7 separate regions of the Homo sapiens genome follow, and all the other regions are linked to region 7. The links are contacts of gene promoters, found by promoter capture Hi-C in blood cells and fetal thymus (Javierre and others, 2016). All regions are on one chromosome and are shown on one strand. The core of a region is centred on a gene start or on the middle of the fragment in contact, and the rest is flanking DNA. Distances in the headings are between cores, read along the strand shown. Region 1 overlaps XPNPEP1 (X-prolyl aminopeptidase 1). Region 2 overlaps RBM20 (RNA binding motif protein 20). Region 3 overlaps RBM20 (RNA binding motif protein 20). Region 4 overlaps RBM20 (RNA binding motif protein 20). Region 5 overlaps RBM20 (RNA binding motif protein 20). Region 6 overlaps XPNPEP1 (X-prolyl aminopeptidase 1). Region 7 holds the start of SMNDC1 (survival motor neuron domain containing 1).

Region 1 (4,325 bases), core at 1,616-4,115, 410 kb before region 7:
ATGAGAATTTGGGCAGTGATTTGGTGAAGTCTGGGAACTGGGAGACTCCCACATATCACATACCAGGTAAGGTGATAACATGCTCCCAGTGCCCGCCCCTCATCTGCAAGGGCAGGGTGGCCAAGAGAAGGCCGCTGCCCCATAACCAGCCTCTGAATAGAGGGCTAAGCACAAGTCTTGGCAGCAAAGAGATCTTTCCGAAGATTTTAAGAGAGGCACACAGGCACCTGTCCGGTTGTCTTTATTTATTTATTTACTTCTGAAGACAGAGTCTCACTCTGTTATGCAGGCTAGAGTGCGGTGGCACCATCTCAGCTCACTGCAACCTCCACCACCTGGATTCAAGCAATTCTCCTGCCTCAGCCTCCCAAGTAGCTGGGATTACAGGCTCAAAATTACCATGCCCAGTTAATTCTGTATTTTTAGTAAAGACGGGGTTTCACCATGTTAGCCAGGTTGGTCTTGAACTCCTGGCCTCAAGTGATCCTCCCACCTCAGCCTCCCAAAGTGCTGGCCATCCTGTTGCCTTTAACATGAGCCTCTGGGTTCCCCAACTCCCAGGATGAGACAGCCCTTTCTGTTTCTAAGACGCTAGTCATAGGACACTATATCAGCCTCCAGAATAGAACTAAAATTACTTCTATAGTCCAGTTTTCCTTTAATCTAAGCCAACACCTTCCATATCTAGCCAGTTATCTTTGAAATGTATACTTTTTTTAACCAATGAGGTTTTGGCCAAACAATTAACATCTTGATAAAATATACATATATTTAGAGTAAAAGTTCACATATTCTAAAACAGTAGAAACTTATCTTTACTATTTTCTCTACTGACTACTGATACAACCACATAACCATAGAAGGGAAGTGCAAAGGTTTATAAAGAAAGAAGCTCATGAATTCCAATTCTAAAAAACTGCCTAGAAGCTGACATTGAGTTTCATTCTGCTATTTGATTCTTTCCTATTTTTTTTCAAACCACTAAACAAGCCACTTATTAATACAGTTTCTCCTAATGCCCTAGTACACTACATAATATAACTTTCACAGGATGAAGTCATGTCATTTCCTAGCAGACAGATCTTCGGCAAAACCCCAGGGATGAATCACTCACTGGCCAACCAAACCCACCAGAATCTCCCTACACAGAAGACTCGACTGAGGAAACTAGGAAGGAGCCTGGAGGAGAGGAGGACTCACTCCCTCTGCCACCCCCTTGCTGCCACATACCTACATTAAGGAACAGGCAGGCAGTGTTTGCGCCTCTGACCCCCAAAATGCTAACAGACTTAAGAGCTGGAATCCGTGGGCCCCAAAGAGAGATGCCTGCTCCCCAGGGGGACACAATGATCTACTGGGTGCAAGAAGAAAGTAACAGAGCTTCTATTTGTATTTATTTTTTATAAAGAAATTACAAAGTTAGTTTTTGATATTTGGAATATAGAGGAACACTAGCACATATAAATAACAAATAAACAAACATACATACATGTTGCGGGTGCTTGACTCCCATTAACAGAAGCACACAAACAAAAAAATTTAAAGGCCACTAGCTTGTCCATTTATAACAGCCAGCTTCAAATGCCTGCCTTTGTGTGTGTGTGTGTGTGTGTGTGTGTGTGTGTGTGTGTGTGTGAGAGAGAGAGAGAGAGAGAGAGAGAGAGAGAAAGGGAAAGAGAAATCAACTGCAGCAACAGGCAACAATCTGTAGCTTTGGTGTTTTTATATTTATGAAATGATTTTTGAGAAATAGAAACTTAATCCAATGCCAAGACAAAAATGTTCCTTGTTCCTCCCTAAGACAAAGAACACATGTGTGTGTATGTGGAGGGTGTGTGGCATACACCTGAGTGCACACACCCCTCAGTCAGCTGGCTGCCTGGATCTCAAGGTCATGGTCTAGTCCTCTGTTTCCTGCTGTGAGTCTGAGGACTATTTTCTTTCCTCATTATTTCCTACAACAAACAAGAAGCATCAGGTATTTTGTTTCATCTTCTCTTTCTCACTTGGCCCTTCCTTATCTTCTGTTCTCCAAGTTCAAAATTCAGGAAGCAAAGACTTTGTACAGTCCCTAAAACCGTGTTTCTAAAGACTATTTTAATGACAGGAAAGTACACACGGCAGAAAATTAAATGAAAACACAGAGTATATACACACATTATTCAATAAACATTGATCTATATGCTTTCCACATAGTAATGCTTTAATTCTCACCACTTTATATGTTACTTACTGTGATTAACCCATTTTACAGATGAGGAAACTAAAGCACTCAAGTGAAGCGACTAGCCCAAGCAAGTTCCAGACCTGTTCGCTTGTCCTGAATGCTGCTCTTCTCCAGAGCTAAGCTTCCAGAAGCAAATCCAAGATCCTCAGAGAGAGCCTCAGGGGAAAGCTTTCTGGCTTCTGTTGCCAATGACTCCTTGCCTTTATCTCACTCTGAATCATGAGGCAGCAAATAGTAGAAGGCCCCCAGTACAGGAGTGAAATGCACAGCAATGTGATCTGCAGCAAATCAACTGTCCTCTCTAGCCCTCAGTTTCCCCTCAGTAAAATAAGTATCCTGAACCAGCGTCCTCCAAAATTGAATGCACATTGGTACGTATGTATAGGCATGCCATTTTTTTTTTTCTCAGTTTTCCTTGGATTCTCAAAAGGGTCCATGACTGCATAAAAGGATTAAGATCCAGGAGTCCTGAGGACCTCTAGGATCCCTGCCCAGATCAGGCCAACTAAGTTTGGGCTAGCCATGCCTGTACCCACCCATCTTCATAAGTGTCCAGTTGCTGTCCATTTGCTTGGCAGCCTGGAGAAAGTAGCGCCCGTCAGTCCACATGGCTGCATGCTCTTCTGTGATGATGGCTGTGCCTGAAGCAGGGGAGAAAAAAAAAAGAAGAAGAAAGGTTTCTAACAACTGCTCAGAAGCTGCACAAAATGACAGTAGACAGGCAAGAGCAGTAAGAGGCATCAGCTCCTAGTGGGGCAGATGGGTCCTTGACTCCAAAGAAACCTCTGGGCAAGAGAAGACCACACTACTGAAAACAAGCTGTGTGTCAAGCTCTGAAAGAACAGTCCTGAGACCCAAGCTACCTGGCACTGGTCCCTGCACAAAAAGGACTCCACTTGCACAGTATGAGTCAAGAACAGAGAATGGAGAACTGTAGACCTATGGCCAAAGTGGTCTCGTATAATCAACAAGACACAGGGAGGGATGGTTCCTGCTCAGCAATTACAGCCACTCCTCTGCTCCACCAGACACCCCAGGGGAGCTGTTTCACCTTTCCTGGAGAAAGACCAAGTGGGCCCTATGAGTGTTCCTGCTGTGGTCACTAGCAGGAAGCTTATGCCTCCTACCTTTATCTGCCCTCCGTTCCCACAGGCCTGGCAGAACTTGGGGTTTTGGCAGAGGTGTCAGCCAAAGCCAATCCTAATGCGCCAACCAACACAAGCACTTACGCCAAAGGAAGCAGCATGCTAACCATGAGGGGAGGGGAGCTCCCACCTTGTCCAGCTTGCTTTAGAGAACAAACCTGAAGTGGGGAGTCCACCCTAAAACTCAAAGGCATAATGGTTTTGAGGAACACCAATGCAGCTTAGAGTTAACCTTTGTTATTTAAGCCAAGAGTGAAAACAGAAACCAAAAGCCAAGCACTTGGGAGAATTATCTGGGACCAATAAGCTAAGAGAGGAGGTTCTGAAACTATATTAAAGTCTCATTTCTTATTTGGGGTGCTAGTAACACAGGTATATTCAGTTTAATTGATAGAACTTTTATATGTATGTTATATTCAATAAAAAGTTCAAAAACTTTTTAAAAATAAAAATTGTTAAAACTTTGAAGCAAAGATACAGAGAGGAATAAAAAGGGTTACTGAAAGGTGACCTTGGGGAGCAGGGAAAGACTGGGAACCCACACCTTTCTGCAGAGAGTCAATGTGGAGCATCTGGTTTGCATTTTCTTTTTGCTTCTATATCACAGGCTGAAACTCGGTTCAGTTATTTTTAGGAGGCGAACAAAGGTGCAGCAAGAACAGAGAAAAAGTAGTGACTCACCCGCAGAGCCATCGAATCCAGAGACAAAAGCCCGCCGACAGTCACATGGAGCAATATACTCACTCTGGAAAACAAAGATGACAACAAAGTGGGCCTCGATCAGTCATGAGCAGACTGTTCTGCCTGCTTAGCCTTGTGCTAGGCTCAGCGGGGACTATGAAGACTGGGGAATCCTTGGCCCCCGCCCTCAAGAAGCCAACAGTCTAGCTGAAAACAACAGATTAGCACACACTGCAGAAGATTGAATTAATTAAGGGCAGAGAGAGCTGTTC
Region 2 (3,756 bases), core at 1,023-3,522, 410 kb after region 7:
ACTGCACTCCAGCCTGGGTGTCAGAACAAGATTCTGTGCCCTGCCCCCAAAAAACTGATCTAGAGACCCCAATAATTACCTTTCAGTTATGTCATGAGTGTGTACTTAATCACCTGGACTCCACTATATAATCTGTTTGGCATAAACTGTTTTTGCTCTTTTCTGTGATTCCCCAACACATCTATTACACCCTCTGTAGAGTATCTTAAAATGGTTGCCGTCATCCTGGGTCACCCCTAACTTTGGCGTCCATATTTGTAAAGTGTCTTTTCCTTCCTCTTTGACTGCCTCAGTTTCCCCCAGAATACCTCTTGTGATGCTTCTTTTGTTCTGTCCACTCCCTCAGTGCTTGCTCTATTCTCCCTGCTCTTTAGGGCTTTTAGTGTGAGAATCACAGAAGATAAGTCATTGACATACATACAGGCTTGACTAACGGGGCAGATGCAGAGAAGTGGATTTTTATGGAAAATATATGGAAAGAAACCTGGCCAAAGAGCCATCACTAGGATTCCAGGTCTGGCGTGGCCACAGATCTGCTGTGTGGTCCTAAACAAGTCTGCTACACAGAGTAACGTGCACTAGGCTTAGCTAGTATTATAACTGTTGCTGGTTATTAGATAATCTTTCCTGGCCTCAGTTTCCTTGCTGTTAAGTAAGGAACATGGCTTGAGTGATATCCTGAGTCCTCTCCACTCTCATTTTAGGTGCAATACGATTATAACCCTGACTAGGATAAATCACTAGGGAACAAAGATGAGGCCCTAAATCTCCTGTGTCCCTTATGACACTTTGCACGCTACAGGGGCAGAGTAGTCATTTAATAATTCAGTACTGCAACTGGGTTTTTAGGGCATTGCTGAGGAATTTTTTATTATCTAAATATATGCATTACTGGCAAATTAAAGAATAAATGGACAAATTCTACTCAGCATTTGTACAGTGTTTTGAAAGAGACTCACATTCATCAATTTAATGTCAGCCTCGCAACCATTCCCTAAAGTAGGTAGAGCACATCTGACCTCAATTTATGGATAAAGAAATGGAAGCTTAGAGAGGGGATTATTTTTTTCAGGTTTCCCAGCTAGTAAGTGGCAAGTCTGGAACCACAATCCCGGGCTCCTTATCCCTGTGCCAGTGCGTTTTCCAGCCTACTAAGGACTACGTTTTTGGGCTAGTTGGGAACAGTAAGAAATACTTCATTGTGAAGACTGATAATATTCAGATGTATTAATCCCTAGAAGATACATGGCCCAAAGGATCATCACCCAGGAATGTTATTAGAATGAAGCTTACCCATCTCCTGTGAGGACCTGGCTAAGCAGATCTGTGCCTGGAGTTACAGTCATGGCAGTGCTCCTGATTCTGAAGATGGGCTATGGGAAGAGGACTTTGGGACATGCTAAGCCTCCTGAGTAGACACTTGAGCCTTGGCATAGTTGGGATTAGGGAATGGTAGGAGACCCTCTTAAGAAAGAAAAGAGTGTTCCCTGACTCAAGAGCCTCATGAACCTGGGTCTTGCCCATGCTGGGTAGCTAGAAATGTAACCATATCTGCAGTTCTTGGAGGTCAATGAAAAGGTTGTGTAAAGGAGTATTGTTTGGCAGATGTCTCTAGTACCATTGCTGCAACAAATAAAGCTGGCTTAGCACTGGCCTGTCTGAAGCTGTGCTCTGCAGTGGTTGTAGTCATACTGAGCTGACCACCTGACCATCTAGGCTCCTAGGAACTGCTAGAAGGGCCAGACAATGAGGACCCAAGAGCTTCCAACCCAAGGTACTCCTAGAAGATCCCATTACTTGACAGCAGCAACTTCTGCTTCTAGAACTTGCTGAGAGACCTGCTGATGAGAGCAGCTGCTGTCAGCTGTCAGGAGGAGCTGCTGCCCCAAGAGAGCAGGAACAGCCTCTGGGAGCTGTGGGTGGCCCATGCCCAACAGGAGTCACCAGTAGGAGCAGCAGATAGAGTACCAGGTGAGGCAGTCCTTCCTGGTTGTCCTCAGCCCCTTAGAATTGTTGAGAAGGGGCAACATGGTCCATCTTCCAAGAAGAATCCTTCCCTAGTAGTTGACCTGGTTGGAGACCCAGCAGCTCAGGGTGGAGGCTCCAGCTGGCTTGAATTGTCTCCTGGTCTTCAAGTCACTTGTTGGAGGGGTGGCCCAGGGAAAAAGGATTGCCTTCCCAAATGATGTTGATGAAAATAATATCTGTAATCCAAAAGGTTTTTAAAATGTAATTTATTGCCTGGGAGCATTGGTTCAAGCCTGTAATCCCAGCACTTTGGGAGGTCGAGGCAGGCAGATCACGTGAGGTCAGGAGTTCGAGACCATCCTGGTCAACATGGTGAAACCCCAACTCTACTAAAAATACAAAAATTAGCTGGGCATGATGGCAGACTCCTGTAATCCCAGCTACTTGGGAGGCTGAATTGGGAGAATCGCTTGAACCAGGGAGGCAGAGGCTGCAGTGAGTCAAGATCGCACCACTGCACTCCAGCCTGTGCGACACAGTGAGACTCTGTCCAAAAACAAAAACAAACAAACAAAACAAACAAAGAAAAAACCCATAATTTGTGAATATTCGTACTTCTATACTCCATCACTCTTTACTGACTAACTCCCAAGTGGAAGTGAATGTTTCCATCTTGTGTCATCACACTGTCTGCAGCACTTTCATATCAGCCATGCATGTACTCCTTCATCAGATGTTGGTTGAGTACTGTAGATGGCTCAGGCCATCAAATGTCAGTTTTCCTTTGCTGCATTGTACTTATGTACATATCTTAGCCCTCCACTAGACTAAAGTCTTTTTTGTTAAGTCCTGATAGGTTAGGTTTATGCTGTAGCCACAAAACCCCAGAGGTTTAATACAACAAAAATTTTATTTCTCACTCATTCACAAATCCTACATGATTTGGTTGGGTGAATATTGAGGGGCTGCTCCATATGATTCCTCAGGGACTCAGGATGACTGGGGTTCCACCATCTTATAGCTGAGCTAACTGGAACATGTGGCCTTGATCACTGAGATGGGGAAGAGAGAGTACTGAAGGGTCTCACCCCTGCAATTACATTGCAATTACAATTACAGTACTGAAGGGTCTCACCCCAGCCTGGAGATAGCATCACGTCTACTCACAGCCCATTGGCCATAACTAATCACATGGTCCCCACTTAACTACAAGGGAGGCAGAAAGCGTAATCCCCCTGTGTGCCCAGAAGAAAAGAACTAGATGAGCATGAGCACTAGAAGTCTCTCCACAAGCTTTTGATTATGTTCTTGGTTCCCTCACTCACTTGCAGCAAAGTTGTCTCAGGAAGTATCACATTCTTCATTTGTAAAAAGGGGATAATGTAAGTGATGAAAAGTCAAGTATGTATTGCCAATTTTCCAGTTTGGAAAAGACTAATCAATAATTTAGGCATCCTCTGTGTGAAGGTCTTGGTCTTTTCTCTTTCCTAGTAATGAGGAGGTAGAATGGTAGGTGCGTAATTAGGGGCAGAAGCAGTCCCCTTAGAAGGCCCCAGATGTCTCCCTCCAGGGCAAGGCTTAGCCTCATTTCCTGCCATAGAACAACTCCTGCAACTGCATACCACCCTCACCCCAGAGCCTCAGGGCACCTGGCTTCTCCTGCTCTGTAGGCCTATATGGAGGCCCATTGACCAGGTCTCAATTATGTAACATCTGGCCTAATTAAACGTGTACTGTTTACCTTTATTCATGCAATTGCCATTGAAAGAGTAGGATTTGGGATTGGGG
Region 3 (3,797 bases), core at 299-2,798, 450 kb after region 7:
TTTCTTTCTGCCTGAAATGTAATCTTTAGAATTTCCCTTGCTGGTGAGGAACTCTTTGCGTGCCTGAAAACTCCTGGATTTCACTTCACTGTGGCAGGGTATTTGTGGCAGTTGTCTTAGTTTTCACTGGTTGCTGTAACAAATTACCACAAACCTGGTGACTCAAAACGACACAAATTCATTCTCCTTTGATTCTGGAAGGCAGAAGCCCATCATCAGTTTCCCTGGGCTAAAGTCAAAGTGTCTGCAGAGCTGCGCTCCATCTGCAGGTTCTAGGGGGGAATCTTTTCTTTTCCCAGCATTGCGATGCTGCATTCCTTGCATTGCTTGATTCATGGCCCCCTTCTCCATCCTCAAAGACAGCAGCCATTGTAGCATCTCCAAATCTCTCTCCTGTCACATCACCTTCTCTGTGTCAAATCCCTCTTTGGCCTGTATAACACTTCTGACTGCACTTAGGGCCCACCCAAATCTACCCATCTAGGTTATGAGATCTAAATTCTGAGATCCTCAACTTAATCACACCTGCAAAGTCTTTTTTGCCATATGAGGTAACACTCACAGCTTCCAGGGACTATGACCTGAATATCTTTGGGGGTCATTCATCTTTCCTCATCAGAATTATAGATTTGTCATTATTTTCTTTCAGCGTATTAAAGATATTATTCCACTGTCTTTTGGCTTCCATTTTTGATGTTGAGATATTTTTTAGTCTAAGTATGATCCCTTTTAAGATAATCTGTATATTTTTTTCTCTAAGCTTTTCTCTTGGTTTTAATCACTGTGATCACTGGTAACTACGATGGGTCTAGGTGTACATTCCTTAACATTTACTTTGCTTGGGATTCTCTGGTCTTTTGACCACTTAGTGTCTTTCAATAGTCCTGGAAAATTCTCAGCTTTTATCTTTTCCATATTACCTCATTCCCATCCCCATTGTCCTCTTTTGGGACTCCAGTCAAATATATGTTGGGCCTTCTGACTTATCCCCTATAGTCTAAATCCACTCTTCTGTGCTTTCCATATTTTTGCTTTTGATGCTGTATTTTGAACAATTTCCTGTGATCTAACCTCTGGTCCTTAATTCTCTCTTCTATTGTTTTTAATCTTTTGCCAAACACTTCAATAAGATTTTCATTTGTTTTTAAATTTTTCCTTTCTAGAAGTTCTGTTTGATTCTTTTCCAAATCTACTAAGTCAGTTTTTACAGTTTTTGGTGCTCTGCAGATATTTGCAAGCTTGTTTACTTTTTCATGTGGTTAGCAAATATAAACTTACTGAGTTTGCATCTGAAGTGTGTCCAGGTCGGTTTCTGCTCTCTGCTGTTTATGCTGGTTCTCACTCATGTTGCCTTATTTCCTTCTATGCCTGATGATCTATTTTCTGATACGCCTGACAATTTCACTAGTTATTGCCCGTAAAGAAATTATGTGTGGAGATCCCCTGAGGCTTAGAATGAGTGTGCTCTCCTTCCTCTGGTTGCCTTTTGGAGTCACTACAAATGAAATTCATTGTCCATGTATGATATAGAACCCTGGGGTGCAAATCTGGATGAGGGCAGGCCTCTGGTCACATCTCAGGGGTAATTTTATCCCCTTCCTACTTCCTCTCTTGCTTTGCTCAGGTTTCTCTCTGGGCCTATGGGTTTGGGGGGGACAGGAAGTGACATATTACTCCTGGTTCATCCTAATCCTGAGGGTGTGGCCCTTTGGGACCCAGCTTACTGTAGGTATATGTCTCCTGTAAGAGTCTACATCAGATGTGCTCTGGGCCCTGACATCTTTCATCCTTACCCCTTTGATGTCTGCAAGGCAAAAGCAGCTTTGGCACTCAAATCATCCTCGAGTCTCTTTAGGTTAAAGCTTTCTCCCTAAATCAGCCTGGTAGGGATGTGCTATCATTCAGCTCTTCAGTGTTTTTATGGTTACTTACTCAGAGTTGTTTTTAGCTGAGGGCTCATCCAATAATTCAATCACCTAACCTTCCCTCGTAGGAAATAGCTATTACATTTCTATTGTGTAAAATTTTACAATTGTGTTTAATATTTATTTACAATTTAATAATTGTGTTATGTGTCTTTAGGAAATTTAGAAATTTACAGTGCAGAAAAAATCAAGGGAATGTAGGGCCACAAGTTTTTATTTGCTTTAAGATATTAGTAGCCACATGGGATATTGACCTGGTGTCCCATCTTGGGGGAAAAGGTGAGAGACTTTTACTGGTTGCACATTAACACTGGGGAATGGAAAAGCCCATCTTGTTTGATGCCATCTGTTGTTTCCTCAAGGGGTAACTTTAATTGGTTGGCCAATAAGTTTCATCCTTGCCTTAAAAAAAATGACCACCAAGGGAAAACTACTCTTAGCTGGCTTCCCAACCACCTCAGCCTGGCCCTGAGCTGCCCTGGAGTGGCCACCATCCAGCCCCTTCAAGTTAGGGCAGCTGGCTTTGATTCAGGCTGTGGAGACAGCGTTAGTCAGCAGCCTCTTCTCTCATGCATGCCCTGATCTTTAACGCTCCAACGTGCATCTGTGACAATGACAGCGGATTCCTGACTGTGGCCATGGCTCAGGATACTTCAGTGGATAAATTTGGGCCAGGTTTGTGAGTCCCATCTTTGGGCTCCCCTCAACATCACGATTTAGCCAGTTGGTGTTGGATCACGATTTTAAAACTTTAAACCTTGAGTGTTAAGAATGAATTCTTGACTGTTCAGTCCTCATATCCCAGATTTGGATGGAAACCTCTGATGCTATAATCAACATGAGGAAAAGCCTGTAAATCATTTACAGATTCAGAAAACACTTAATGGACTTCTCCTCTGTGGAAAGCACCATGCTGGGTATTGTGGCATCCGTGCCCTCAGAACGCTTCTAGTCTTTTCCTATACAGAGAACACAAGTATGCCCACCTAAGAGAGAAGCTGAGATTTAGAGGAGCCACTGAGGATGGCTGTGAAAGTGATCTGGCTAGGATGTTTGTCATCCCATTGCTCACGAGGTTTGATGTGGCTGATCCGCCTAGCTGGCATCTCTTCCCTCCTCATACCTCAATGCACATTCCTCCCACATCTGGGCTCATGGCAGTGAATGTGACCTTTCTGTCCAGAGGAGTTCTATCATTTGGTCAAGGTAGGGAGGTGATTGTGCTTCTCTGTTTAAGACTTAGCAAAAGACAAAATGCAGAAAGCCTGAAGGTGGGAGCTAATCTTTCTGGCTGTCACCAGGTCTTATACAACCTTGTGGTTGTCACGATATATGCATCAGAGCAGACCCCATTTCCTGGAAATCATTTCATAATGGATACTGGAATTTGAATTAATAAAACTTAGAAGGACCCAAACTTGGTATCTCCTTGCCAATTCTCTCAAAATTGAGTGTTCTGCAGTGTTCCTACACAAGTGAGGTTGGTGCATTTATTAATTAATGTCACTAAGAGATCAGTTAAAGCCTCAGCAAACAATTGCCATGTGCTCTTTCAGGGAAAAACAACTTACAATCAGATTTGTTCCCTCAGCAAGAATTAGAGGATATACTGCCAAAGTTTCTCCAAGCTGCCCCCTCTTTTTCTTGGCAAGCTATTGGGCTGTTAGCTTCCAGTCCCCCAGCTTCCTTGACTATGAGGATTCCTTCCTAGTGTGGTTCAGAGCACAGATTCCACCTGCTTTTATTTTGCTTTCTAATTGCTTATTATTCTCCCAAGCACACACTGTTTTTCTTTGCTCTATTCCTCTATGTTGCTGAATATTTTGATCCTAAACAAAGGTGACTTTTGTACTCAGCTTGTTATGAAAGATC
Region 4 (3,836 bases), core at 1,337-3,836, 490 kb after region 7:
CACATTACCATATTGATAAAGAAATTCAAAGTACGATCTCAACTCGCATTTTTCAATGTAAAGAATAATGTTTAGCCCCCTGCTTCCTGTGGTATTATTACCTTTGAAGACCTTTAAGGGCTTATAAGAGAGCCCGGGTTGGGAATTACTGCGTAGCATGGTGACGCTTGCTCAAGAGCACTCAGGATTGCCGGTGCCCCTGATGTACAAACTGTACTTTTGATGTACCACTCAGGGACCTCACTCCGCCTGTTTCCCTTCTCACTTTCCTCCTTCGCTCCCTCCCTTTTTCCCTCATGATTCAGATCTCCCACAGGGCATAGGGCAAATAATAGCCATGTTTATGTAAAGTGTAATGAGAATAGAATAGAGTGAAAACAGCTACTATTCTACATCTTGTATGAATCATATATGGTTTTGAACCTAAATGGAGTTCAACAACAACCCAAAGATATTTCAGATCAATGGCAGAAAAGAATTTGATGAACCATCCTAAATAAAATATTGGCAAAAGAATAGAACACATAAAAATTAATTTATCTTTCTAACTGGATAGGATTTACCACATGCCCTGAAGCCAGACACCACACAAAAGCAAACTATTAACCTAGAGATTCTCAAGATTTTCATTTCATGGCTCACTTAGAAAATAATCTGCTGAAGTAAATGGTTTAACTGAAGAAGCTACTCATGATCACTGGAGGAACTTGGCCTTCAGCCTGAGGGATCAATATCTTGGCACTCCTATAACCATTTGCAGTTGATGTAGCTCATAATTGGAAAGCTCCAAATTACTATTATCTGGAAGAATACTAAAAATCTCATTAGTGTCTTAATAAATGACAACAAGGGAATTGGTAAAATCCAGCATCTGTTTCTGATTAAAATCTTGGAAGAGAAAGAACTCAGAAGATGTCTTTTTAAAATTTGACTGGAAATTTTAATTGAGACCCATTCACTTAGTGCCTTTGGTAACGACATCTTCAGCATGAATGCTTCTCTTCTTTGGTGACTGGCAGCTGCGAGGTTGTTTTTTCTACTACCCAGCAGCAGCAGTTGCTGTGCTATGTTCCAATAAAAGCCTCTTGAGTTGTCCTTTCAGTCTGGAGGAGACAATGAGAGAGGCACTGGCCCTCATGCCTGTTCACTAGGCAACTGGATAGGCCAGGAGCAGGATAGGCCTGGAACTGCCTTGGGTGTCTGCTCCATTGTCCAAGCACACATTAGCACAGGCCAACCACAGCAAAGTCACATGGGGCAGAAACGTGCCTCGCTAAGAGACCAGGCAGAGCACCTAGCCTCAGCCGTCCTTGTGATAAGCTCAGAGGACCAGCCACTCTACCCTGCTTGAAAGCTCAGCTGTGTCTGCATCTTTAAGTGAACACTCACACTAATGGGAGGCAAAGATTCTGCTTCTTAATAGCACTCCTCCTTTCGTTTCTGCAGAAGGGTTCAGTCCTCACTAGCCAGGCTCAGACTCAAAGTCTCCTAGCTGATGGAGAGTCCATTTGCACTTTAGGAAGATGAGGAGCTGCTCTGGGAGCTGCCTGAATCCTTGCTCCCCTTTGGGAAAGTGCTTGACCTCTGGACATTGCAGAGTGGGAGGTCGGAAAGAGGCACTTGGGCTTCAACAATTCAGGGCTGAACCATAAAAGGAAATTCTTATTGACTGTAATTGTTTTCAGCTCAAATGAGACAAATGAGGGCTTTTCATGGTAGAATTACCCAAGTATTAGCCCTTGTTAGGGGTGACATCTTAGACTTTCCCCCTGTATTACCTTAGCAGAGTCGGCCCCACATCAAATGTAATTAGATGTAGAAGTTCAGTTTAACATAGAAAATTGTGATTATGCAAATGGAGACTATGCTATTAGAATGTGTTTCAGGTTCGGAAAATTATATCCTTCTCTTCCACATTGGGTTGGCTTATGGTTACTAATTCTTGACCCTCCCAGAGATTCCAGGCTGATTAAGGTTTGCACAAAACAGACAGACACACTTCCTCCCTCCAGGAGCTTTGATTAGGGCCAAATGTTGGCTTCCAAACTGTGTTCCTTAGAGGTGCCTTTGAGACTGCCAGGTGGGGGTCGTGCCAGGGTGCCGGACCCCAAGGTTTGACCAGAATAGCTCCTCTTTTATTTGTTGAATACATTGGGATAAACCAGTTTTGTTTGAAGAAAGGACTCCAAGCTAAAAATATTTCGAAAACCACTGCCCTAAACCACAGGTTTTTGCTGTGAATATCAATGCATATGTATTAGATTCCCACAAACTTTCTATGTTCTTTTTTCTTTATTGGAATTGTAAGTCAAACAACATGAGGTATATATGAAGAAGGTTCAGCATGTCTCATCTTACTGCCTTCCCATTCTGCTTCTCTGAAGATAACCAGCATTGACAGGTTGATATATATGCTGCACATCTTTGTCTGTATGTGCTGATATTCTTTAAGCATTTTTTATTGCAAAAATTTTTAAACATACGGAACAGTAGAGACCAGTATAATTAATCCTTGTATACCCATCACCCAATTCCAATAATTATCAAAATTTTACAACACTTGCTTCATCTGTCTTTTTTCATATATTTTTGTTTTCCAAAAATGGCATTATAGTACACATACCACTTGGTAACCTGCTTTTAACTTAACAATCTGTCTTAAAAAGTATTTCATATCACCAAGGTGAGAGAATCACTTGAGGTCAGGATTTCAAGACTAGCCTGGGCAATACAGCAAGACCCTGTTTATACAAAAAATAAAAATTAAAAAATCAGCTGGGTGTGATGGCTCAAGCCATCAATAGTCCCAGCTATTCGGGAGGCTGAGTCGGGAGGATGGCTTGAGCCCAGGAGTTCAAGGCTGCAGTGAGCTATGATTGTGCCACTGCATTCTAGTCTGAGTGGTACAGGAAGACTCTGACTTCTTAAAAAAAATTATTCTATATCAGCACATTTACCTCCTTCTTGTCATGGCTATGTAGTTTTCAATTTTATGATTGAGCCATCCTTTACTCAAACATTTCCCTATTGTTGGACATTCAGGCTGTTCCCCCAATTTTTTGCCACCTAATAAATTACTGTAATAAATGTTCTTGCACATGAGCCATCACATATTGGGGTGCTATTATTTCTATAGGATACATTTCTAAGAGTGGAATGGCAGGATCATGGGCTCTGTATACTTTGTTTTATTTAATATTGCTAAAGTATATTCTCAAAAGTTTACAGATACTCAACCTCCCACTAGCAACATATGGATATGTGCATTTCCTCATATCCTCCACAGCCCTCGTTGTTACTGCTTATAAAAAACATTATTATGAAATGGTGGTGCATGCCTGTGGTCCCAGCTACTTGGGAGGCTGAGATGGGAGAATCACTTGAGTCTGGAAGTCAAGGCTGCAGTAAGCCGTGTTTGCACCACTGCGCTCTAGCCTGGGTGATGGGAGTGAGACCCGGTCTCAAAAATATATATATATATAATGAATCCTTTTGTAAAGAGATAGAATAAAATTGATATTTTATGTGTGTCTGTGAATGGATTTTTTCTGCATTAATTTTGTAAATTATAGTTTTACAATCATTGTTTAGGGGAAAGATAGCCATTAAGAACGTCTGGAAGAGAGGGGAAAAGGGAACCGTCTTCTGAATACCACTAATGATCTTTGTTCCCATTAGTTTGCACAGCGGAAAGGGGCTGGCCGTGTGGTGCACATCTGCAATCTCCCTGAAGGAAGCTGCACTGAGAATGACGTCATTAACCTGGGGCTGCCCTTTGGAAAGGTCACTAATTACATCCTCATGAAGTCGACTAATCAGGTAGGTCTGGGTACTTT
Region 5 (4,046 bases), core at 1,484-3,983, 430 kb after region 7:
CATGGAACCAATATAAAAATTCCCTCTTTTTTTTTTTTTTTTTTGAGAGTGTCCTTAGTATACCCAGACCCCCCAACCCATTGAGGTCAGTAATTTTAATCTTAAGAGGAGATATTTTCTCATTTGTAAAATAGGGCTCCTGACTCAGTTTCTTGGGTCTCTTCCCAGAGATATTCTTTATTTATATACAGTGCTCCCCACTCATGCCCCCTGAATCTGCAACTTTACTTTCCACAGTTTTAGCGACTTTTGGTCAACTACAATCTGAAAACGTTAAATGGGAAATGCCAGAAATAAACAATTCCTAAATTTTAATTTGTGAGCTGTTCTGAGTGGCGTGATGAAATCTCCTACTGTCCCACTCTGTTCTTCCCATGACGTTAATCATCCTTCTTCCAGTGTATCCACAGTGTATACACCACCCATCCTAGCATCACTTAGGAGCCATCTCAGTGAGCAGGTCCACTGTCGAGGTATCGCAGGGCTTGTGTTCAAGTAACCATTATTTTCCTTGATAACAATCCCAAAGCATAAGAGTAGTGATGCTGGTGATTCAGATATGCCCAAGAGAAGCCATAAAGTGCTTCCTTTAAGTGAAAAGGTAAATGTTTATTCCAGGTATATATAGGAAAAAATAAATAGTATATATAGAATTTGGTACTATCCAAGGTTTCTGGCAACCAGTAGGGGTCTTGGAACATATCCCCCCATTGCAGATAAGGGAGAACTACCATAAACATGTATCTGCATGTATTTTTTTTATGTGGAAAGGAACATATCATGCATACTGTCTAGCCACCATACTTAACTTCGTTTTGACAATGTGTCTCTGAAGAGATTGTAGCCTGTCTGCACACAAGCCTGTACCTTGCGCTTTTGTCCTGATTGAATAGTGTTCCATTGTATAAATTATTATAATGTGTTTTCCGAGCCTCCTGTTAATCTAGATTGTCTCTGATAGGTTACTATTACTGACAGTGCTGCAGTGAGGATCCTTGCACACCCATCTTGGCATGTATGTATGAGTCCATCGGAAGGATACATTTCTGTAAATAGGATTGCTGGGTGAAAGGTATATTTGCTTTTGTTTTGATGAAAACAGTCATCTAGCGCATGAGCATGTCTGTTTGCCCCATCTCAAGGTTTTATGCCTTCTAGTTAAGCATCGGCTACTACATGTAGAGCTCAGGACACTGACCCATGCACGAAAGGTACATAAGTCAAAGTTACTAATTAACATGTATCTTAGTAGGAGTTTGGGGTATTTGTTCAGGATTGCTGATCTCATGGCTAGATTAGTGAACATTCACCCCAAGAGTGAAAGGCTCTGGAATTTAACCACAAGCTTAGGCTTTGAAGATATGGTATCTCCCACCCATCTCCCTCTGATGGCAGATTAACTAGGCGGTGGGCAGAACCAACCCTTCCACACGCCAGCCTGTCTTCCTTAGAGAGCACAAGTGCATTTGCCCAGAACATTCACACTTTCAGACCTGGAGATGAAACACAATTTTTTGGCAGCAAATCTCAAATAACATGTATTTAGGATTACAAAGTCACAGTTTTGCAACCAGAGGGCTTGGGAAGGAGTTGCTTAAAGCAAGAAAATTGCAATGCAGTTTTTACAAAAATTAAAGATATAAAGTCCATCTTCCCAAATTACATTCCACACATTTACTTCTCTACAAATGCCATTTGCACACAATATACCCAGTTTGCACTGAATTCCATTCCTTGCTTCTTTTTCCCTTCTTAGTCACACACTATCTGTGCGTGTCAAGACACTGTTGTATAAAACTGCTGTATAGAACTAGGTATTTTATTTTGTTTTGTCTTTGCTTTAAATTTTATACACTTTTTGGATTAGGTCATTGAATACTTATCCTGTTTTCATCTGAATTTTCTTGGGAGAGAAAATTTAAATATTTACCTTCATCTTAAAAAAAAAGAAAGAAAGAAACCAATCCAGATGACAGAAACTGAGAGGGACATGGTGGTTGCAGGTGTCCGTGTGTGCTGGGAATGCAGAAACATGCCTGGAGCAGTGGAGGCTGTGCTCTGGCTCTGCCAAACACCCTGTGGGCCTATTGAGATCCACCACCACCTAATGGAGGAATTGCCTTCTTTCCTTTTTTTCAGTAAGCTCTTCATTGAATGCTATGGTTTGAATGTTTGTATCCCTCCAAAATGCATATTTTGAAACCTGATCCCCAAGATGGTGGTATTAAGAGGTGGAGCCTTTGGGAAGCAATTAAGTCATGAAGGCATGAGTGGGATTAGTGCTCTTATAAAAAAGACCCGGCCTGGCGCAGTGGCTCACAGCTGTAATCCCAGCACTTTGGAAGGCCGAGGTGAGCAGATCTCCTGAGGTCAGGAGTTCGATACCAGCCTGGCCAACGTGGTGAAACCCCATCTCTACTAAAAATACAAAAAAATTAGCCGGGCATGGTGTTGCGCGCCTGTAATCCCAGCTACTCGGGAGGCTGAGACAGGAGAATCACTTGTACCTGGGAGGCAGAGGTTGCAGTGAGCTGAGATAGTGCCATTGCACTCCAGCCTGGGCAAGAAGAGTGAAACTCTGCCTCAAAAAAAAAAAAAAAAAAAACACCCCACACACACACTCAAAAACAACAGAGCTTGTTCACCCCTTCTACCATGTGAGTGGAGGCAGCAAGAAGGCACCATCTATGAGGAAGTGGTCCTCACCAGGCACCAAATCTGCTGGTGCCTTGATTGTGGACTTCCCAGCCTCCAGAACTTTGAGCAATAAATTTCTATTGTTTTTAAGTTACCTGGTCTAAGGTTTAGCAATCTGAAATGACTAAGGTCCTAAAGTATAATGTATAGAAATAATGTGTGAACAGCTTGATAAATTTTTACACAGTGAACATATCCCTAAAAACCTGCATCCAGATCAAGAAACAGAACACTACCAGCACCCCAGGAACAAGTGGCTACCTTTTGAGTCACTCTTCAGCCTCTGACGATCTTTAACAATGTTGACCTCTCTGAAGATAGATTAGTTTGCCTTTTTTTTTTTGAGTTTAACGTAATTGGAATGATATGGTGTATACTCTTTTGTGCCTAAGTTTCTTTTACTCAGTTTTATGTTCGTAACATTCATCCATGTTGTAGCAAATAATTATACCTGGTTAGTGTTCGCGGCTGTGTAGTATTCCATTACAGGAATACACCACTATTTATTCATTCTACTCTTGATGGATATAGGTTGTTTCTAGTTTCTGGCTATTACAAAGAATGTTGCTGTGAACATTTTTTACGTGTCTTTTGGAGAACATATGTACACATTTCTGCCAGGTATACACCTGGGGTGGAATTGCTGGGTTGTTAAATTTCCTTACTGGGGCCTATAAGACCAGGTCTTGCCTGCTGCTAGATTCTTGTCATCATTAATCATCATCTATATGCCAGGCACTATGTGAGGCATTGGGAATAGTAAGGAGCAGAAGCAGATGTGGTTTCTGCTTTTGTGCCAGCATTAATTAAGCAAACACCAAGGTAAGGTGGTGTGATTGCCATGGAGGTAAGTGCTGAAGAGGAAAGAGGCAGGATCCCAGGACAGCTTACTGTTAGGTTTTTTAAAGGGAAGGTGAGGGTTAAAGAAAAACAGAGAGAGAGTTGGCGGCCCTACAGCAAAACATAGGCTTTATGTCCAACATAAAACCTGCAGAGGTTGGGGGCCAGCTTAATGCCAGTGCCCACTGCTGCTTACAGGCTGGGGCAATTATAGGCCTGAGCAGGAGGGGTCTGGGGGGAGCATGGCCTGCTGCCTGGGAAAATGTTGATAACATGTTCCCACGATGAGGTGGTTTGGCCCTTGTTCTGGTGGAATGTGATGTTCCTTGCCCTTTCTCCCAGCAAAGTCAGGCAGTTGGTCAGGCTGTTTCTCACGGCCCGAACCCCCCGTGGAATGTTTCACTTTGACCAAGGTCTGTGAAATGACAGGGAGCTTACGAAACGGTGCAACTTGGACTAACACTTATGACATAGGAAGTGGATCTGGGCTGGGGGAGAGGGTGGCATGG
Region 6 (3,870 bases), core at 372-2,871, 430 kb before region 7:
AACTTGCTGGGCTCATGGGAATTCACAGCCACCCGGGAAGGTGGGTCCTTTTATCCTCATTTTTATGGATGGTGACTGCTTTGTTCAACGTCACAGAGCTAGTAAATGGCACAGAAGCTCTGAAGCCAGGTCTCCAGACCCCTAGTACACATCTCTCTGCCTCACAGCTCTCTTTCCCCTTTCCATGCCAATCATACCAGAAACTTAATAGAGTCTGTCATTTCAGAAAGTTTCCAGAGAGTTAAGCCTGTAAATAAGAATCTCAAAAAAAGAAGGGGGTGGCCTTCAAAATCAAATCTAGGCACTGCTTATAAAGCATGTATTTCACTCTCTCATCCCCAGCCTCAAAGGCATTTCCTGACTCAAGAGAAGGCCAAAGCTATTATATTTAAACTTACACCTGAGCTGCCCTAACCTTAGCAGAATGCTTTAAAAATTTCTCCAAATGTCTTATTCCAATAATTAGTTAAATGAACCTCGTAAAGCAGATAAGCCTGACTCCACAGCAAGGAGCAATTTTACTACCCCACATGTAATTTTTACTTCTTTATACAATCCCTTTTCATAAAAGCAATGCTCTTCTTAAGAAAGCAGAGAGGACCTCTTGAGTTTTTTACCTCCACCTTACCTTCTCGTAGGCTGTAGGGGTCCCAAAATGCATTGTCCGCGTCACATCTGTGGTGCCATCCCTTTCCAAAAAAAGGACAAATTGGTTTCCCGTCAAAATAAGCTTTAAGTCAAATATGACACAGGCAAGCATGTGGACAAGTGAGAAGCCCCATACAATGCTGGTGGGCATGTAAAATAGCACAGCCATCTTTGCAAATAGTTCGCAGTTCCTTAAAAGGTTAAATATAGTCACCATATGACCCAGTAATTCCACTCCTAGTTATATATCCAAGAGAACTGAAAACATACATCCACACAAAAACTTGTACATGAAGGTTCACAGCCACATTATTCATAATAGCCAGAAGATGGAAACAGCTGAAATGTCCATCAACTGATGAATGGATAAACAAAATGGGGGATTATCCACACAGTGCAATACCATTCAGTAATTAAAAAGAAATGGAATACTGATACATGCTGCAACATGGATGAACCTGGAAGACATTGTGCTAAATGACAGAAGCCAGACACAGAAAGCCATACATAATACAATTCTATTTCTATGAAGGGTCCAAAATAGGCAAATCCATAGATACAGAAAGGAGAGTAGTGGTTCTCCAGGGTAGTGGAAAAGGGGGTAGTGACCGCTATTGGGTATGAGGTTTCTTTTTGGGGTAATGAAAATGTTCTAAAATTGATTGTGCTGATGGCTGCAAAACTCTGTGAATATATAAAAAAAATTAATTGTATATTTTAAGTGGGTGAATTACATGGTACATAAATTTTACCCCAATGAAGTTATTTTAAAAAATGAAACAAAGTGTGAATGCAGGGATGGCTAAATAAACTGGGAGTGACGTCAGCCCCTGACACACGCATTCTTGGTCTACAGCATAAGGGCTGTTTCACGAGAGACACTATCACTGGGGTTATGAACAAGACAGAAGAAGGCAAAGAAAACAGGAGCCCATCTCTAGCAAAAGAGGGCCAAAACCCAACTTCTCCTGTTAGAACAGCAGGGGGTTTCCTGGACAGAGACCCTAAAAATATCCAAGTACATATCTTAACACACACTAGACTATATCCCTGACATAGAAAGGATAACTTCTAGAATCCTGCTAAAAATTTAGAAGTGAAGAAAAGTTTACACCATTATCAAGCAATCCTTAGCTCTAGGCTGATATTATTAACACCCCTGTGTCCCAAGGCCAGGCATGGTTGCCACGTAATTGGCTGAGCTCATTCAATAATTAGGTCCTCCCTTAGCCATAGTCCCAACTTCAGTGGGGAATGGAGCAGCACTAAAAGGTCTTGCTCGGCTGGGCACAGTGGCTCACGCCTGTAATCCCAGCACTTTGGGAGGCCGAGACCGGCGGATCACGAGGTCAGGAGATCGAGACCATCCTGGCTAACATGGTGAAACCCCGTCTCCACTAAAAATACAAAAAATTAGCCGGGCGTGGTGGCGGGCACCTGTAGTCCCAGCTACTTGGGAGGCTGAGGCAGGAGAATGGCTGCAACCCAGGAGGCAGAGCTTGCAGTGAGCCGAGATCACGCCACTGCACTCCTGCCTGGGCTACAGAGTGAGACTCTGTCTCAAAAAAAAGGCCTTGCTCGTGCCCTCTTAATGCAGACAGGGTCTATTCTTACTCCTTCTTTTGGGTTCCGTATCAAGACCCAACCAAATCTTGGGTTCTTCTCTGAGAAACTTTGTTCCAGAGATGATAGCCGTGAAAGCAGCAAAACATGGAGAAAGAAATTCAGAAATGTGGGGGCAGCCCTCATTTCTCATTTATTCATTCAAAATTAATCCCTTACTTCATAAGGCCCTGGGGCAGCTGAGAGTACAGGGAACCGGCAGGCGGTTCATGGGCTGGGGTGGAAAACTTTCAACGGTTCCAAAAGCTTGCTTTACTTCACAGTTGTTTACTTATATTTTTAAAACTTCCAGCCAAGGACTGTAACATTTCTATCAAACAGTCTTTTGTGAGAACAGAGTCACAACTGGGCTATTTCAAATAGGGGTGAAAAAAATGACAAGACACAGGAACGATTCCATTAGTGGCCAGCACAGAGGGCGATGACCAGCTGAGTGCTCTCAGCTGGAGCTCAGCTGTCCACCTTCTCCACTGCCTCGAATCCATAGTCAAGTTCCACAGCAGTCCTGGTTTACTTACTTGTATTGAGCACCCGAGTCAATAAGGTACACCTCATCCAGGGACAAGGTCCTATTCGTCTCAGGGACTGGCCTAACAAAGTTAATTAAAAATTAATTATTCCACAAATGTAAACACTTAGTGAATCTGGGAGGAGGACACACAAGAGCTCTTTGTACTATTCTTGCAACTTACATAAGCCTGAAATTATATCAAAATAGAAAGTTATGCAATAATGAATTATTTCAACTAATATTAAACTTCTACTTTTCAAAGATCCAATCAACCTATCTCCCCAGCTGAGATAAAGAGCTCAACAAAGGAAAAGTAACACATTTCTTTATGTCTACCTCTGTTTGTGTCTGAAACAAAATAGGTGTTCAAGAGATAATTCTAAAAGCTAAAAAAATGAGAACGATTAGATGCAACAGGACCTAGCTAGAGTCCTGGGAACTGGGACAGGAGCAGCCTGGAGTCACTGCAGCCTTGCTTGTCTCTGGGAGCCCCAGGCCCCTGCCTCAGCCTCCAGGCCCCTCCTTCAGCCCTGACCCCAGCAGGTACCTCCCCACTCGCTCCCCAGACTGCTAGACAGGCAGGAGTGGATGTCTCAACTTGGGAGAAAAACTAAAGGAATTTTGCTGGGAAAAGGAATGGATCACGATATTCTTCTGCTTCAAACAAACATGAGGTATTTTCAAAAAGTGATCTCTTTCCCCACACCGTTTTCAAAACAATATCACTGCACTGGGAAACACCCAAAGGGATGAGAGCACTCCAAGTCTCTGCCCTGCAGCTGAAGTGAGGTTGTCCTCCATTTCCAGGTACCACCCCCTCTTCAGCAATAAGGGCACCAGTCCACACACAAGCTGAACAACTAAAAAAGACAACCAGTACCTCCAGAACCCCGCCTCTAAACAGGCTTCCAACCACCCACAATGAAGAAATGCCAACGCAGAGGCAAATTTCTTCCACTGGCATGAAACTGTTTAATGTTTTAATTATACGGAAAATTCTAGGATAGTATCCAGCCAGGAAATTCATCCTGAGTTAAACAAAAACTGAAGTCCCTCTGATATTTTTATGCTGGAACAGAAGCATTAAG
Region 7 (4,136 bases), core at 557-3,056:
TTTTGAACTAAATTTCATTTGCCAGGTCTTAAAAACTAAAAGCGTTTTTCATTGTGAAGTTACATGTACCTCTCGTCTTGAAAATCTGACAGACTTGGAAATTTCTATCAACTTTAGTTTTTAAAAATTATGTAAGCACACAAGATTTATATAACAAAGAACAATATTTCACTCTGATGTACAGAAACCTGAGAACTGGGGAAGCAACCCTACTTCTACAAGCAATGGTACCTACAGAATTTACATATATACATAGGGTGGGGTGTAACCCCTCAAAAGGCGCTTTGGGTACTTAGGGATTCAAGCAATAATTTGAAAAACAGAGAAAAAGTACAATTGTCTACCCATACTTACTTGTAAATCTTTCTTCAATTTTAGCAAATCTTCATTTTCTCCATTTCCAGATAATGCAGCTTCAACTTGCTGGAGCTGAGCTTTGTAGCTTGCCAGCTGCTTTGCTAAATCCTCTGACATCTAGGGAAAATAAAAAGGGTTAGACCATGAAAACTAAACCAAAAATCAAGGCATAAAAAACTAACTCCCCTGTCTGCCTGAATTACCAGTTTTTGCCTCTAACTCCTTCTAACACTGCAGCTTAATTTACCACCATTACCTTTACTCTCAGTTTAGACTTCAGCTAAACCACAAACTTAAAGGCAACAGATTCTGAGGATTATAAACTTGAGATACATTCCATACTTTAAAAAAGCATACAGATACAAAGAAATTTCTAATTTTCTTTTAACTCCTATCCACAGGGTAGGTGCTGAATTCGGCTCAATAATCAGTGTTATCTTTTTAAAAAGCACTACTCTGTTGGAAAAGTCGAAACTTTCAAAAACAATCCAAATACTTATTTTTAAGCACTACAGTATGCTTCCAAAGCCAAACAAGTGCGTTTTTAAATTAACTACACAAACTACGATCTTTACTTGAACTATTCAATTAAGAGTGTATTTAAAAGTGCCTCTCCAAAACAAAAATCTTTCGCCCAGTCGCTTAAATATTTATCGGTGCATTATCTTCAGCAAAAAGAACAGCACAGGTACTCTCCCATTTAGGCATTCTAACGAATGTGCCTTTCGCCAAATCCAGCTCAGTCATTTTCCTGAAAATAAGATACCAATTAACCTTTTTTGATGGTTTATAAGCAAATGTACCACGTTTCCGAGGACCCTTCTCCTTCGTAAAATTCCCGTCCAACCAAAGGCTGGGAGCCTGCAAAGGCCCCCTAAGAGTTACAGCGACCCAGGCTGCTCTCCTCCCCGCCACGCAGCACCTCAAAGCCCGCCACAACTCGATCATTCGGACGTGGAAATCCACACGCCAGCTCCAAGACCACCGCCGGAGCCCCGCCGCGCTCCAACAGGCAGGCTCCACAGGGAGCCGCGCGGCGCCCAGCCCCACCCGACCCGGTCCCCTGCGGGCCGTGTTTGCCGCCGCCGCACGGAGGCCAGCGCCGGCCGGGCCGCCGAGGCTCAGCTCTGGCTGAGAGACGGCCGTGGCTCCGGGATCCAGGGCCAGCGCCTGGGCGTCTCCGGCGAGGCGGGCTCCTCAGCCTTGGGCCTCCGCTTCACCTCGGGAGGGACCCGGGCCCGGCCAGGCCTTACTCTCTCCCTCAGGGGGGTTGTTACCTTGTGTGGGGCTGGGGGCGGGGCGGCGGGAAGGGGTCGGGGCAAATGAGCCCAGTGGTAGTGGCGGTGGCAGCAGCAGCAGTAGCAGTAGCAGGAAAATCACCGCGACGACAGCAAGGCGACCCGGTCTGAAAAGGAAGAACTCGGTCGGCGGCGAGGGGGAAGGGAGGAACGCCGGGCACTGGAAGGAGGAAAAGACAGAGACGGTGAAGTCTCGCGAGAAATACAAACTCTCGCGCGAGGTCGCTCGACTCACGTGACTCCGCGCGCCCTCTAGCCAGTCCCTGGCTGTCAGGGACACGAAGTAGGCGGGGCCTAGGAAGGAAATGGCGTAGCTGGGCTTCGCCAGGCGCGGAATGCAGGTTATCTTCCTGGAGTTCCGGCTTGGAATTTATTGGAAATGCAAATTCTCAAGCCCCACCCCAGACCTCCTGAATCCAGAGACTCTTGTTTTAATAAGCTCACCAGATGATACCAATGTCCGCTGACGTTTGAGAACCACTGCTTTTCCGGGGCGGTGGTGGTGGGTGGCGGGGGGTGTTGGTGGGGGCTCTCTTTACGTTGCCCTGGCTGGTCTCCAGCTCCTGGGCTCAAGCTATCCTCCTGCATCGGCATCCCAAAATGCTAGGATTACAGGCGTGAGCCACCGCGCCCAGCCTGAGAACCACTACTTTATATGATACAAGCCTTAGTAGTAACAGAAAGCTAATTAAATCGTGACAGAAATAACCTATTGGAGAGAAGATTGATTTCTTTAAAATCTGTTTTGTTAAAACCTACTTGGTTTTAATTTAGTTGGGTTAATCTCGCCTGATAGGGAACAACGTCCAAGTTAGTCTAGAATGGTAAAGAGTGGTAGGAATACTCACATTTGTGTTCAAAAAGAAATGCCCCTTGTGTATGTTTGTAATAATATATACGCTTTCTGGACGGATACACAAAACTGTTCAGAGGTTTGGAGTGGAAGCCAAATGTTTTATTGATTACCCTCTTTGCTGTTTACCCTTTTTCCTTTTCTTTTTTTTTTAAACCATATATATATAATTTATTTCAATTAAAAAAGCAATAAAGGCCTGAGACACAAAGTTTTATATAGATGACAGGAAGCAACCTTTCCTGGGAGGTTGGGAGTTTGTTGCTGGATCCATAAAAAGGCCCACTTCTCGCGGATCACCTGAGGTCAGGAGTTCGAGACCAGCTCGACCACGTGGAGAAACCCCGTCTCTACTAAAAATACAAAAAAAAAAAACCAACAACAACAACAACAACAAAAAGCCGAGCATGTTGGTGCATTCCTGTAATCCCAGCTGCTCGGGTGGCTGAGGCAGGAGAATCGCTTGAACCTGGAGGCGGCGGTTGCGGTGAGCCGAGATCGTGCCATTGCACTCCAGCCTGGGCAGCAAGAGTGAAACTCCGTCTCAAAAAAAAAAAAAAAGGCCCACTTCTCAGATGGGCTCTTTTGAACTGTGCCAACATCTTTAGTTCCTAGTTTTCTTTTCAAGGAGCCTTCCCTTTTGTTCTCTACACACACACACATAACCCTTGCAGTGAGTCAGATAACCTGTATAGATGGAAACTAGGTCGGGTTTGTGAGTGTGAAAGATTGAAATTGCAGCAGAGGGCAGCAGTGTGTAGCTAGAATTAAGAAGGCAGACAAAACAGAAAGCATGTGCTTTTAAATAAATATTCGTTTAAAATAAAATGTAGTTTTAGAGAACTTCTGTTATTGTAATTGTGTGTTTTAAGAACCGATGCGAGGAGGAACTTCCTTGAATATAAAGTCAACCTTATTGTGTAAAAATCTCTTAAATGAGAACTTTTCCTGAACCCCATAGATCAGAAAATAGGCAAATATTCATTATAAGTTCCATCATAGATTTCTATACCATCTTAATAATTTTTTCAGGATTGTTTTTAGGATTGTTTTTATCTATGCAACATTCATTTATAAAGAAAAGCTATATTGAATTTTAATTTTCACAAAGAAATAACAGTTTGTATGTGCCAGATACCATTCTAAGCACTTTACACAGGTTCATTTAATTTTCACAATTGTATGCGGTGTTGCTCCAGACAAAACTGGAGCAGACAAAACTAAGAGCAATACTTCAAATAGGCTTTCTGAATTACTATTTCCTTTGAAGTGTCAAAATTTACTTTCAGTGTCTGATTTTTCTTAAAACATTTGCATTCAAACTTAATCATGTTTATTTAAAAAAAAGTATCTTAAACCTTTAGTTTTGAAACGTGATATTTATTTTATTGAAAGACAGTAAATAAATAAAATGTAAAGGCTCCAAATTGTCATCAGAATATACAGCTATTTCCTTTCTACTAAAGAAAATTAAAGTATGGCATGATGGCACCCAGCTACTTGGAAGGCTGAGAAGGGCATCCAGAAGTTTGAGGCTGCAGCACACACTGACTGTGCCTGTGAATAGCCGCTGCATTCCAGCTCGGGCAACATAGTGAGATCCTGTCACAAATTTTAAAAAATTAATT

Evidence for each region. Contacts are between HindIII fragments. The CHiCAGO score rates a contact against its expected background, and 5 or more counts as called.
Region 1: a fragment that was not itself captured here is called in contact with the fragment with the promoter of SMNDC1 in region 7 in 8 of 17 cell types (total CD8 T cells, monocytes, non-activated CD4 T cells and 5 more); the score reaches 8.0 in total CD8 T cells.
Region 2: a contact is called between a fragment that was not itself captured here and the fragment with the promoter of SMNDC1 in region 7, in 6 of 17 cell types (M1 macrophages, M0 macrophages, M2 macrophages and 3 more). The highest score is 9.8, in M1 macrophages.
Region 3: a fragment that was not itself captured here is called in contact with the fragment with the promoter of SMNDC1 in region 7 in 8 of 17 cell types (naive B cells, endothelial precursors, M2 macrophages and 5 more); the score reaches 8.3 in naive B cells.
Region 4: a fragment that was not itself captured here is called in contact with the fragment with the promoter of SMNDC1 in region 7 in 5 of 17 cell types (fetal thymus, naive B cells, M2 macrophages and 2 more); the score reaches 7.2 in fetal thymus.
Region 5: a contact is called between a fragment that was not itself captured here and the fragment with the promoter of SMNDC1 in region 7, in 7 of 17 cell types (M2 macrophages, M0 macrophages, total B cells and 4 more). The highest score is 10.5, in M2 macrophages.
Region 6: a contact is called between a fragment that was not itself captured here and the fragment with the promoter of SMNDC1 in region 7, in 1 of 17 cell types (monocytes). The highest score is 5.5, in monocytes.

The regions. Positions count from the first base shown.
Region 1 is chr10:109,888,959-109,893,283 of GRCh38, forward strand. XPNPEP1 (X-prolyl aminopeptidase 1) reads right to left here. Exons shown (of 21, transcript NM_020383.4): 4 at 4,054-4,117; 5 at 2,764-2,868. Among named protein-coding and RNA genes, the nearest start is that of XPNPEP1, 32 kb to the right of the region's middle. RefSeq lists an enhancer at 3,171-3,230. The HindIII fragment of the contact is 945 bases long and covers 2,394-3,338 here.
Region 2 is chr10:110,712,727-110,716,482 of GRCh38, forward strand. All of the region lies in intron 1 of RBM20 (RNA binding motif protein 20), which reads left to right. Among named protein-coding and RNA genes, the nearest start is that of RBM20, 70 kb to the left of the region's middle. The HindIII fragment of the contact is 1,973 bases long and covers 1,287-3,259 here.
Region 3 is chr10:110,753,506-110,757,302 of GRCh38, forward strand. The region is part of intron 1 of RBM20 (RNA binding motif protein 20); the gene reads left to right. It also overlaps the pseudogene RN7SKP288. Among named protein-coding and RNA genes, the nearest start is that of RBM20, 110 kb to the left of the region's middle. The HindIII fragment of the contact is 624 bases long and covers 1,237-1,860 here.
Region 4 is chr10:110,793,830-110,797,665 of GRCh38, forward strand. It overlaps RBM20 (RNA binding motif protein 20), which reads left to right. Exons shown (of 14, transcript NM_001134363.3): 6 at 3,679-3,819. Among named protein-coding and RNA genes, the nearest start is that of PDCD4-AS1, 75 kb to the right of the region's middle. The HindIII fragment of the contact is 5,481 bases long and covers 1-3,836 here.
Region 5 is chr10:110,734,593-110,738,638 of GRCh38, forward strand. All of the region lies in intron 1 of RBM20 (RNA binding motif protein 20), which reads left to right. Among named protein-coding and RNA genes, the nearest start is that of RBM20, 92 kb to the left of the region's middle. The HindIII fragment of the contact is 2,781 bases long and covers 1,344-4,046 here.
Region 6 is chr10:109,872,739-109,876,608 of GRCh38, forward strand. XPNPEP1 (X-prolyl aminopeptidase 1) reads right to left here. Exons shown (of 21, transcript NM_020383.4): 15 at 2,790-2,861; 16 at 629-689. Among named protein-coding and RNA genes, the nearest start is that of XPNPEP1, 49 kb to the right of the region's middle. The HindIII fragment of the contact is 1,787 bases long and covers 729-2,515 here.
Region 7 is chr10:110,303,114-110,307,249 of GRCh38, forward strand. SMNDC1 (survival motor neuron domain containing 1) reads right to left here and starts at 1,807. Exons shown (of 6, transcript NM_005871.4): 1 at 1,635-1,807; 2 at 355-474. The coding sequence starts at 474. RefSeq lists a silencer at 1,319-1,638. The HindIII fragment of the contact is 6,895 bases long and covers 1-4,136 here.